3 separate regions of the Homo sapiens genome follow, and regions 1 and 2 are each linked to region 3. The links are contacts of gene promoters, found by promoter capture Hi-C in blood cells and fetal thymus (Javierre and others, 2016). All regions are on one chromosome and are shown on one strand. The core of a region is centred on a gene start or on the middle of the fragment in contact, and the rest is flanking DNA. Distances in the headings are between cores, read along the strand shown.

Region 1 (4,345 bases), core at 667-3,166, 180 kb before region 3:
CAGCTCACCCATAACTCTACAGTGCAAAACATGAAAAATGCTCATAATCTTCATTTTGTTAATATCTGAGTTAATCACATTTTTTTTTTTTAAAGACAAGCTGTCAGTCACTCTGTCACCCAGGCTGGAGTGCAGTGGCACGATCATGGCTCACTGCAGCCTTGACCTCCCAGGTTCAAGTGACCCTCCCACCCCAAGTAGCTGGGAATATAGGTGCACGCCACCACACCAGGCTAATTTTTTAAAATTTTTATTGAGACAGGGTCTCCCTATGTTGCCCAGGCTGGTCTCAAACCCTTAGGCTCAAGTGATCCTCTCGCCTTGGCCTCCTGAAGTGCTGGGATTACAGGCCACTGCATCCAGCCCACATAAAGTTTAAAAATTTCCCCCAAATTTTACATTCAAGCTTTATTTACCCAAATCATAATTATAACTCTAAGTTACAAAATTATACTATACAGTCTTTTTACCTCAGCATTTGAAGTGTTTTCCCAAAAAATAATTTCATAAATCAGTGGATAATCCTGGATCACAGGCGTGTTTCCAGACTGTTTTGGAGCACCGATATAGATATGGAATGAATCACTAAGGGATCTAATGTTAAAGACTGGAGGAAGTAGGAAAGCTAGAAAAAATTTGTAAAGAAATAATGTTCAATTAGAAAAACAATTTTAAAAACTTGCACCAGAGAATTACAATCTCCAGTAAAAACTACTGCCTTACCTTGTATTTCAGTATCAAACTTTATCTCTTCAGACCAAAAAGATGTGTTATTTCCATCAGATGCTTGTACGCGGAGAAGGTAAATTCCTTTTTGGAAAACGTTTTGAGGAAAGACACACTGGGTAGTTTTGACATTTTCACAGTCAGGTATTTGTTTCCATTTATACAAATGGTTTCCAGGATTCCTTTTTAAAAAGGCGCTTTTAAGACAAATATTTTTTAAATTCATTAGATATTTATTAAGTATTTACAATTGCCAGACACTATGTTAGGGGCTAAGGTTACAGAAATAAATAGTATCCACACTCAGGAAACTCACAAACAATGGAAGAGATATGCATCTAACATAAAAGAAAACCAAAGACTGTTCCAGACTGTGGTCATGTTGTGCTCTGCTGGAGGTGGCTCATATCAATATGCAAGAACATCTGTTAGTTAGAATTTCCAGGAATGCTGCAAGCTGGTTTATTTTTTTTGGCTTTTTTTTTGAGACCGAGTCTCGCTCTGTCACCCAGGCTGGAGTGGAGTGGTAGGATCTTGGCTCACTGCAACCTCTGCCTCCTGGGTTCAAGCAATTCTCCTGCCTCTGTCCCCCTGAGTAGCTGGGATTACAGGTGCACGCCACCAGGCCTGCCTAATTTTTGTATTTTTAGTAGAGATGGGGTTTCGTCATGTTGGCCAGGCTGGTCTTGAACTCCTGACCTCAGGTGATCCACCTACCTCGGCCTCCTAAAATACAAACTGGTTTTTAAAGAAAAACCATTACTAAAAATTAAGTTATATAAATTTGCAAATAAAAAATTGTTTTAAAGACAGAGGTAATAAATAAATTCATCTTGTCCTAATTATTTTACTACATTTTATTTTCTAAGCTCTTGGGGCTATCTTTATCTATTGTAGCTATATGATAGTGGTGTGCTACTGTGCATATGTTCCCAACTCCATATTCAGGGACATCAGGCTGGTGGCTTGAAAGTGGCCATGGTGGGAATATTTATATCATAAAAATCAGCAAACACTACAAAATAGGACTTTTTCTTTCTGGAAAGCCAGCTGCTAAACATGCGCCAGCATACCAATGGACACTGATTAAGTGCTAAAATAGAGACACACTGCGGGGTTATAAGAGCAAGTATAAGTACGAGACTAAAGAGGTTAAGTAACTTGCCCAGAAACCAACAGCTAAAAGCATCTCAGTTCAAGCCCAGAACTCTAATAGCCTCCTGACTGGTTTCCTTATCTCTCTTTAGTGTCTCCTTAGTCCACTCTCCCACATACCATGTCGCCGCATGCACCTTCCTCAAATCCAGAGCTCAGGTTAACTATCACCCCAACACAAAATCCCCAAAAGCCTACAGGACAGCCTGAGGTTGACCCTAATCTTGTCCCATTCTACTTATTCAGCTTTCTTCCCATTGCCACCTGGTGTCCAAATGTTCTGCTACTCTAGAAGGACATCCTCCCCACTGGAGAAGGCAAAATTCTGAGATGGCCCCCAAGATTCCTGCCCCCTGGTGTACACATCCTGTATAATCCCCTCCTCTTGAGCATGGGCAGGACCTGTAAATACGATGGAGGCCCTCCTCTCATAATTAGGTTACATTAAGTGGCAGAAGAGAAGGTATTTCACAGATGTAATTAAGGTCCCAAATCAGTTGAATCAAATGAGAGACTATTCTGGGTGGGCCTGACCTAATCAGATGAACCCCTTAAAAGAGGATCTAGGCCAGGCATGGTGGCTCATGCCTCTAATCCCAGCACTTTGGGAGGCTGAGGTGGGCAGATCACTTGGGGCCAGGAGTTTGCGAACAGCCTGGCAAACATGGAGAAACTCCGTCTCTACTAAAAATACAAAAAAAATGGCTGAGCGCGGTGCCTCACGCCTATAATCCCAGAACTTTGGGAGGCTGAGGCGGGTGGATCACCTGAAGTCAGGAGTTCGAGACCAGCCTGGCCAATACGGTGAAACCCCGTTTCTACTAAAACTACAAAAATTAGCTGGGTGTGGTGGTGCACACCTGTAGTCCCAGCTACTTGGGAGGCTGAGGCAGAAGAATCACTTGAACCCAGGACGCGGAGGTTGCAGTGAGCTGAGATCATGTCACTGCACTCCAGTCTGGGTGACAGAGTGAGACTCCGTCTCAAAAAAAAAAAAAAAAGGATCTAGAGGTCAGACTCTCCCTTCCTGATGGCCTCTAAGAAGTGAGCCACCATGAGCTCTAGAAATAAATTCTGCCAACAACATGTGAGCTTGGGAGCGGCCCCCAAGTCTTGTATGAATGACTGACTCCTTGACTGCTTAGCAGAAGAGCCAGCTAAGCCACGCTTGGACTCCTGACTCACAGAAACTTTGAGACAATAAACAGCTGTTTAAGTTGCTAAGTCTGTGGTAATTAGTTACAGACACAGAAAACTAACATCTAATAGTTGTCTACTTAAAAAAAATCTGAATTAACAATCAAGGCCTTGTTCATACCTTATCTCTTTCCTTATGGCTTCTTTGGTCTCTTTAGCCCCTATTCACCTTTACATTTTCAATTTCTGCAACCCTTATAATTTGTATACCACTCTTTAGTCCTAAACCACACAACACTTTGCAATGTTGGCTAACTGCTTTCAATTTTTGAACCACGTTTGATTCTGCTGACTCTTTCCATTTCTTCAGTGCTTTGTACAATATGGTAAGTACCCAAAAGAAGCTTAGAGATCAGCTATCAGAAATACCTCTCATTATCTATTTGGTGACCCTATTATTTATTCACTTCTGAAAGTGAGGTATACACAAAAGACTACTGAACAGTTTCCTGATTGGTTTGTGAGGTTATATATGCATTGTGGGGCACATATGCACATAAATGCATTTGCATTCTACCAGTCACCCTTGGTTCAAAATTAACACTAAAAGATAGAAATTGATCATAGCGGTACTTACACTTCCCTTCTCCCTCATTTTTTCTGTTTCTTTCCAGTTTCTTCTGACTTTTCCTTTCCTGTCTTAGCTATACTTGCCTTTGCTCTCTCTACTCCTCTGCCACCAATGTATATCTTTCTTTCCATCTCTTTTCTCCCCATAACCCATTTTTCCTTCTACTTAATTTTCCTCTTCTCTTTTCTCTATTCATCTCCTACAATTTTCCAATCAATATAAACTACATGCAGTTCTCTTTTATCAGCTTTTTAAAAATTTTAATGCTTAGAGATGGGGGTCTCACTATGTTGCCCAGGCTGCAGTGCAGCGGCTACTAGCAGGTGTGATCATACAACACTGCAGCCTCAATTCCTGGCCTCAAGTAATCCTCCTGCCTCAGCCCACTGAGTAGCTGGGACGATAGGCATGCGCCACTGCACCAGGCCAGTTCTCTTTCATTTATGCAGCGCCTGGACTTCATCCATGTTTAGCTAGCCTCTGCTCAACCACATAGAACATAGTTCTTTCCAACTTTCTTTCCCACCGAAGTATCTACTACAAAATTTTGTCAAAACCACTAAAGTAATAAAGAAAATAGGAAGGCTAATTTTTTGAATTGAACAAGTGAGTGGACTGAGATCATTTTAAGGACTCATGGAAGAAGTGAGTTCTTAGAAAAAGATCAGGGTCAACTGTCGAGTCTTCCAGATTGGG
Region 2 (4,517 bases), core at 1,829-4,328, 170 kb after region 3:
AAACTATATCATTCCCCCATAAGGAGGCCTTGGCAGAGGTGCCTGAAGAAGACCATGGACACAGAGACCCGGGAATGAAGGTGCAGGGCTGGGAACACAGGTGCATGTAAGAGCATGGCCGGCCAGGGGCCTGATACCTTGCCCGCAGCTCCCTCCTGGGAGTGCCACTGCCCTGGCTGTGCCAGGTCTGGTGTGGAGTGGGAGTCTCCCCATAAGGCCTGCCAGGTACAGCCTTGTAGTTTCCCACAGCCAGGCCTGAAAAATCACAACTAAAAGTCAGACTCCTCAGTGGGAGGTTCTATTACTTGCCATGGAAAACATCATAACATAACAATTTGGAATCTCTTAGTAACGAGGAAAAAAAACCCAACTCAGATGGGTTTAAAAAAATAAAGGATACGTGATTTTAAAATGGACAGAGGACTTGAATACACATTTCTCCAAAGATGATATATGAATGGCCAACAAGTATCTGAAAAGATGCCCCACGTGACTAACCATGAGAGACATGTAAATCAAACCTACAATGAGATATCACCCCATACCCAGCAGGATGGCCACTATAATAAAAACCCCAGAAAATACCCAGTGTTGGCAGGGATGTGGATGTGTTCATCCGTCTCTTCACTAGCTGTTAAATGCTACTAGTGTTAGGCCCTGAGCATAGAAAAATGGTTAAGACAATAGATGTAGACAGTAGTCTACTTAGGGACATTGTCAGAAGAACAAATACAGTAACTGCTGTAATAGATATACATACACTATGTGCTGTAATTTAAAAGTACTATAATAGAAATTTTGTGTATTAATGTATTTATTTATTAAGGGTCTCACTCTGTCACCCCGGCTGGAGTGCAGTGGCACAATCATAGCTCACTGCAGCCTCCAATTCCTGGGCTCAAGCAATCCTCCTGCCTCAACCTCCCAAAGCGCTGGGATTACAGGTGTAAGCCACTGTGCCCAGCTGCTCCTGACAGTTTTATGAGAAGATCAAGCACTTTTATTCCTGCTAAGTTCCCAGTAAACCTCTCCTAACCTTCCATTGGCTGGATTCATGTTATTTTTCATTGAGCCAGTCACTGTGGCCAGTTGGATGGGATGTGCTGATTGGATTCACCAATCAGGGCCCATTCAGGAGTAGAAGGGAGAGCTCACTTTTTCAGAGGCACATGGGAAGGTAGTATAGTTAAAAGAAAATGAGATGGAGGCAACTAGAAGGGGGAATGGATGTTAGGCAGGCTACAAGATACAGTTGCCAATTACATTGTGACATATGGGTTGCTAACCTGGCATAAAGAGTTCAAATTATTGGCTGGGCACGGTGGCTCATGCCTGTAATCCAGGCACTTTGGGAGGCCGAGGGAGACAGATCACGAGGTCAGGAGTTCGAGACCAGCCTTACCAACATAGTGAAACCCCCATCTCTACTAAAAATACAAAAATTAGCCAGGCATAGTTGCGCACATCTGTAGTCCCAGCTACGCAGGAGGCTGAGGCAGGAGAATCACTTGAACCCAGGAGGCGGAGGTTGCAGTGAGCTGAGATTGTGCCACTGCACTCCAGCCTGGGCAACAGAGTGAGACTCTTTCTCAAAAAAAATAAATAAATAAAGAGATTTCAAATTATTTTAATGGGAGAGGTAGCTGCAGCTTTCCCTGTGTTTAGCCAGACTAAGAGCCTCCCCACTAAACCAATGACAGCTGAGGATATAAGATGTGTATCTCAAGGTGTCAGCCACTCCTTGGCCATAAGTCCAGACCAGTGACTAGAGGTCTGGCAGTAGGTATTAAATTTTTCCGGCCTGTGTGATGCTTCTCTTCTTCCCTGTCCTTTGTGGAGTCATAGATATGAGCTACCAGAAGACAAGTGGAGGAAAATGGCTGGAAAAACAGACAGAACCTGATATTAGCATTCTTGGTACTGAAAGACCTGGGCTCATCTTCTGTTTCTGTAATTTTCTGGCTGTGTGAGCTTTGGTAAATTTCAGAACTTTTGTGATTCAGCTTCATCTATAAAACTGGAGTAATGATGTGATGATCAAATTTGCAGGGTTGAGATAAAGATGGAATGACATCAAGGTGCTGCCCTATAGAAGTACTCAGTAAATGGGAGTTATTTTTTGGGATTAATTTATTGAGGGCTTTGTATGTACCAAGTGCTATGCTAAGTGCTAGAAATATACTATGCCATTTCATTTTCCCAACAAGTCTATGAGGTAGGCATTTTATCTACATTTTACAGTTATGAAAACTGAAGCTCAGAAAGGTTATATAACTTTTCTTTTTCTCACCCAGACAGCAAGTGGATTCGGACAAGTCTGTCTGATGCCTCGGATGGTATTTTATTTGCTACATTATACTGTCTCCTGCACTGCTGATGAAAAACGGTTGCTCAGCTGAAACCTATTAGCCCCCAAGGTGATCTGTGGATGAGTTTCAGGGAATCTCTCAGCCCCTTTATATGATATGCAGACTTCTGTGTATATATTCACTTTTCTGGAGAGAGAGTTTATAGCATTCAATAGAAAGCTGTCCCTGTTCTCCAAAAAATGGTAATTTTTAATAAGGAGAAATCACATAATATATGTAGCAGAGTTTTATTCCATTTCCATCTATCCAGCTATGCATGGGTTGGACAATGGGTAAAAACATGTAGTTAGAGAGAAGGTATAAATTCTAATGTTCAATAGCAGAGTAGGGTGACAATAGTCATATATTTCAAAGTAGCTAGAAGAGAGATCTTGGATCTATCCATCCAATAAATATTTACCCAGGGCATTCTTTTCATCAGGCACTGAACTAAATGCCAGGATTACCTTTGAAAGACAGGATTTCAAGTATGTAAACATTTGTTTTACAATAAAGAAAACTTGCATCTACTGGTGAGATATGTTTTTCTCTGATAATGACTATTATGTAAATTGTTCTATATTCCCTTTATACTTTGGTGGCCAGAAAGCTTAGACTAAAAATTCTTATATTCTTATTTTAGCTCACATTGATTCTTACTCTTTAACTCCATTTAAAAATCTACATTTATTTTTTACTATATGTATTGGCATTGTTGGCTGCCTCAAATTGTCTATGAAATGAGCTGAGAAACAAAACCAATTTATTTAAAAAAAAAAAAAAAAACCAAACAAGCACAATTAAATTTTTGTTGTCTCACTTTTTATTCCATGACTCATGGGAAGCTTTAGGAATATTCAACAATAATACTCTTCATGTATCCAGTGGAACTTATAATTATGTGAGTTTTACACTGGTTATGTATTATTAATCTCATATCAAGTGGAGGAAATAAAGCTCAGATTTTGCCCAAGGACTGATAGGAAATGGCCTTATGCTCTAACTTCAGTGTGGCACTCCTCATGCCATTCTTCCAAGAACGCACATCAAACTTCTATTTCCGGGCATTTTTGTTTGTACTTTTAAACTAAAAATAAAATACAGGCAACATTTTAGACAGTGTAGCCGACCTCTTGATTGCCTACCCAAATCCCATTCCTTTTTCTTCCTTTCTAACAAAGACCTTATTTTTTTTTGTGGTGCCATTGTGGCCATATTAAAATGTCCAACTTCCCAGACTCCCTTGCAGTTAAGGGTGGCCATGTGACCCATTCTAGCCAATGTAATGTTGGCAGAAATCCAAAGAGTAGCATCTATTCCCAGACAAAAACACAAAAGATTGAGAGGAAAAGCCTTGTGGTTCTTTTCTCTCTTCCTGCCTGCAATACGGGCATCATACACAGAGCAGCAGCAGCCATTTTTCGACTTTAGAGAAGGAAAGCCTCAAGTTAAGATTAGTAGAGCAGGAAGAGCAAGCCAGTCTGAGTCCCAGTGGACATGGCTGGTCAAGCAACCACTCTAGCCCTACACTGCTTACCTCGTGCTTTCTTGCTATGTGAGGACAATAACCCTCTTGGAGGTCTCGACCACACTGGTAAGGTTTTCTGGGTCAAACATAATCCTTACTCTTAAGGCAGCTTAAATAAAGTGACAAAACTATTGATGAGCATTTTTTACTCTCAAATGACCAGAAATCACTTACCTAGGAATTGACGAGAGAATACTTATTTCGTTTTCATTGTCTAGATGGCCACTTTATTAACAACATGGCCTAATCCTTCAATAAGAGAAATCACTGGTTGATTCTATCCCAAATTACTCCATGTAAGGAAAGAGATTAAGGTTGAAGTGACTCCTGTACAGTACTTTGAGAGTATATTGTGCAGGATTCCCTTTGAGACTCTTCAATTCAGTATTTACTTATCTGTCCTTTCAAGATTGATTAGCAATTATTTATGGCAAAGATAAAGCAGCCAAACTGTGAGAGGAGCATTTCTTGGAATAGTGATTTATTATTTATTAACATCAGAAATATTCAGTTACAAAATTTGAGCAAGAGAGAAAAATGTAAGAGGAAAACAGCAAATTATCTGAAATCCTACCATCAGCATAACCAGAGTTAATATTTGCTATAGAACAGTCCAGGTCTTTCTTTGTGCATATGGCCCA
Region 3 (4,088 bases), core at 862-3,361:
TCTCTTGCCCACAATTTAAAAAGCCACCTTGATTGTGATTACATTTCAAGTGTTAATTAGGAATCAATTTAGGCCATATAATATGTAGCCTATTTTAGGTATCTAAGGTTTATCAGAAATTAACTCATTAACTAACGAAGATGCCTTTATCAGCGCCTGCAACTCCAGTGAAACAGTTTGAATTGTTTCCCTTCAATTTCCTCCCCAACTCTGCACTCACTGCTCTGATTTGGTAGCGGAAACACATCAAATGAGTTCTGTTCTTGCAAGTGAGGAAGGGACAAGAGAGGGGACACAAGATGAAAGGCAGGGAGGAGGAGAGTCTCCCAATCTCAACCTCTGGGAGTTTCACGCTTATCATCTGGGGTCCAGTTGGCATGCGGCCAGTGGGCGGTGGCAGCGGCCTCCTTGGGGCAGGAGTTCCTCACTCTTTTTCCTCCATTTGTCTCCTTGGGTCCCTGGCACCTGCTGAGTGAGAAGCCCAGATCTGTATTAGAAGCTGCTGCTCTCTGGCCCAAGAAGGGCAGCGGCCTCTGGATTAGGGAATGGAGGGATGGCTGTTCCCGGGATCACCCCTCTCCCTCTGCCTGTGTGCAGCCTTGTGTGCTCAACCCTGCACCCCAGGGGCCCTCAGACTACTATCATGAGGCCCAGGCCTTGAGCTGCAGAGCTGGTTAATTAGCGCTGGAGCCCAGGAAGCCCCATCTGTTCCCAGCACTTGTGTTGCTCTGATCTCTCCATTTCCCTGACTCCCAGGCCAGGGAGAGTTCTTGTCCTCCTACCCTGCAATCCCTGGAGATGCGCTCCCCCCAACCGCAGCCCAAAGTGCCTTTTCATGGGGCTGTAAGGCAGCTGTCACGAGGTAAATCCCACTCTTTACCCCGCCAGCAGGACAGGTAGGGACAGGTGGGAGGAATACGGGAGGAAACAGCTCCCACTGGTGACTGCCGGACCCTCTCCTCGCTGGCCGCAGACCCTGGAGCCACTTCCCTACCGTATCCAGAGCAGGCCCAGCCCCCGACAAAGGGACCTTTATATGGTGGTCCTGGAATTTTAGTTGGGTTCCCGTAAATGCAGACCCTGACAAGGTCTTGGGCACAGGAGGTTTATCTGAGGGGACTCCAGGAAGCAGGAGTCAGGGAGAAGGAAGCAGGAAACAGAAGTAGACGTCATTACTGAGATTGCTGCTGGAGGCAACAGGGGTCTTGAAGGTAAGAAACATGTCCTTACGGGAGAAGCTGCCTTGGTGGGTTTGGAAAGTGTGAAGAGTTCGCAGGCGTGCTCATCATCAACTAAGTGGACAGGTGAAAGCTGGAGGGGCTCTGCAGAAGCCCTGAGTTGCACTAAAATCTGTACTAATCCAAATAGTGGGTCTAGATTCCCTCTCCTACTCAAAATGACTTTAACTCCTCCAATTTAGCAAATATTGGTTGAACATCTCCTACTGTATTTAATGGAATGTAAGAGATCATTGACTATAAGGCACGCCATTATTTTAAGAGGCTCTAAGAAAAGAGCTTCCAACTCAGCTATGACACTCTATGAAAAGTAAGACTTTCCTAGGTCAGAAGCACAGAAGTGTAAAAAGAATGTTGGTCTCGGGATGGGTACCATGTGCACTGTAGCTTAATGGGCATAGTGGGGCATTGTGACATAGAAACTGCCCTTGCTCCCAGCAGAGGAGAAAAAGCGTGTAAAGCAATGTCAGTGATAACAAGCAAAAATAGGACAGGGGAGAAAGCCAAGAGTCTTCAGACCACAAGAGAAGGAGAGATTAATTCTGGTAGGGAGGTATCAAGGAGGCCTTCCTGGATGAGGGGGTGGCATCTGAGCTGGGCTCAGGAAAAGGTGGGGCTTGAACTATTGGGGATGAAGGGAAAGGCATTCCCGGCAAGTGGGAACAGCACAGGCAAAGGCTCTGAGAGGTCCTAGAAATAAAGTTATTGCACTTCAAGGGGGTTGTAAGATTTATGGGTGAGGATAAGGAAAAAGTAGAGAATTAGAAAAGCAGTGAACTTACCCCTTTACCCAGAAATCCCCCTCCTAAGTGCATGGCCAAGAGAAATTTGCCCTCAAGTGCACCTTTTCCCTTTAGGAAAATCCACCTGGATGGACAGCAGCAGAGGGAGGAGGAGGCAGGACAGACCAGAAGAGAGACAATGAGGTTCTGAACCTAGATGTTGGCCAAGGGAGCAGAGGAGGGCAGGTGAATGGCGCTATAGGGGATACTGTAGCAGGAGGGTTGACTGGACTCAGCAACTGGGGAGGGAGTAGGCAAAAAGAGAGCCTGGGAACTTAGGACAAGAAGCAGGGTATTTTTTTTTTTTCAAGGGAGAGGTAAGCAACAATGATTTACTTGTTCTTACACATGGAACTCTCCAGGGCACTACACCTGCATTTAAATCACTTGGCTCCTGGCACATGGCTCTCCTCCCATTTCTCTTTCTGTCCACTCCCTCTTCATTTGTCCTCTGCCCTCTTCGTATGACTGTTCCTTGGGGCCCTGTCTCCAGGTCAGGAGGCCCTCGCCCTGCAATCACCCTTCCTGGGAGCCTTCACTTCACCTGTGATCTCAAGACCTCTCCCTACTGCCTGACTCGCGCCGAGCTTATGGAACATCTTCCCTTGAGGGTCGCAGTCCATTCGATGAGGTATTTTCCCCATGAAATCCCTTATCTTTGGGAACCTCTTCTTTTCCTTGTGCGTCCTATGTGGGTGGATGGAGAACCACTCTCCACGTGGTTACTCGGTCCAGAAGGGCGGCTGTCTGTACAAATGCGCCTCTTCCTTTCACTTCCTCTATCCAACCAGCTTCTTCTGCCCACCTCCCTTTCATGCTCCTTTCACGCTCCTTTCACATGCTCTTGGCTCACCGTTTTTTTCTTTAAGTTTTTAGAGACAGGGTCTCGCTCTATCACTCAGGCTAGGGTGTGCTGGCACGACCATGGCTCACTGCAGCCTTGACCTCCTGGGCTCAAGCTATCCTCCTGCCTCAGCCTCCTGAGTAGCTGGGACCACAGGCACGCACCACCATGCCTGGCTAATTTTTTATGTTTTGTAGAGACAGGGGTCTCTTTCTTGCCCAAGCTGGTCTTGAACTCCTGGCCTCAAACAATCCTCCTGCCTTGGCTTCCCAAATTGCTGGGATTGCAGGAGTTTGCCACTGCGCCTGACCTGGCTCGCCTTTTTTGCTCCTGGGCGTTGCTCTGACAACCGCAACAAGCTGTCACCTGACAGCTGTGGCAGTGGGTATCTGCTGTGGCAGGCTTTCTGTCCAAGCCTGCGGGGACTTGCTTAGCTATACTGGCTTGTGTGTAAACTTGGAAGCTCAAGGGAGGTGGCTTTCCTTGGGGGAAAACTTTGACCAATAGGGGCAGGAGCTGATGAGCTCATCTGTCTTCCATCCATGTCTTGGGTGGACAATTCTGAGGCATCTTTCACACGCTTCCTCAGGGGGTCTCCAGGGGATCCAGTCCCAGCAGCCCATGGAGGTAACCAGGCCAATAACACCACACTGGGATGCTTCTTTCTCCTCCCACTATTTTTAAAATTTTTAATTTTTAAAACTTTTTGTTGAGATGCGGTCTCCCTGTGTTGCCCAGGCTGGTCTTGGCCTCCTGGCCTCAGGCGATTCTCCTGCCTTAGCCTCTCAAAGTGCTGGGATTACAGGTGTGAGCCACCACACCAAGCCCACCTCCCTCTTTCACTCCTCCCAGCCCCCATTGCTGTTACTTGGCATCAATTCCTAAACAGCCTGCACATCAGCCCTTGTCACAGGTCCTGCTTCTGTGGGGAGCTCAAGCGCGGACACCCTTGGAACACTCCCCAAGTCTCTTCCTTCCCATCCAGCACCACTTCCCTAAGTCACAGCTGCACCACCTCTCATCTGGACTGCTCACAGCAGGTACCTAGTTGATTTGCCTCTAATCTTGTTCTGTTGTAATCCATTGACACATTTTAGCCAGGATGGTCTGTATTAAATGAAAATCTATCTATGCCACTTTTCTGCTTTAAGTCCTAGAGAAGAAGCATCTCATTGCCTACAGAATAAATTCCAAGCTCTATAGCATGGAACACGAAACATCTCA

The links. Contacts are between HindIII fragments. The CHiCAGO score rates a contact against its expected background, and 5 or more counts as called.
Region 1: a contact is called between a fragment that was not itself captured here and the fragment with the promoter of LINC01548 in region 3, in 3 of 17 cell types (neutrophils, monocytes and non-activated CD4 T cells). The highest score is 8.8, in neutrophils.
Region 2: a fragment that was not itself captured here is called in contact with the fragment with the promoter of LINC01548 in region 3 in 3 of 17 cell types (erythroblasts, megakaryocytes and M1 macrophages); the score reaches 5.8 in erythroblasts.

What each region holds. Positions count from the first base shown.
Region 1 is chr21:33,345,669-33,350,013 of GRCh38, reverse strand. IFNAR1 (interferon alpha and beta receptor subunit 1) reads right to left here. Exons shown (of 11, transcript NM_000629.3): 7 at 724-923; 8 at 471-625. Among named protein-coding and RNA genes, the nearest start is that of IFNAR1, 23 kb to the right of the region's middle. The HindIII fragment of the contact is 3,016 bases long and covers 409-3,424 here.
Region 2 is chr21:32,999,673-33,004,189 of GRCh38, reverse strand. No RefSeq gene overlaps it. Among named protein-coding and RNA genes, the nearest start is that of OLIG2, 24 kb to the left of the region's middle. The HindIII fragment of the contact is 235 bases long and covers 2,961-3,195 here.
Region 3 is chr21:33,168,259-33,172,346 of GRCh38, reverse strand. It overlaps LINC01548 (long intergenic non-protein coding RNA 1548), which reads left to right and starts at 2,111. Exons shown (of 4, transcript NR_024102.1): 1 at 2,111-2,206; 2 at 2,514-2,651; 3 at 3,766-3,904. RefSeq lists an enhancer at 2,830-2,899. The HindIII fragment of the contact is 7,514 bases long and covers 1-4,088 here.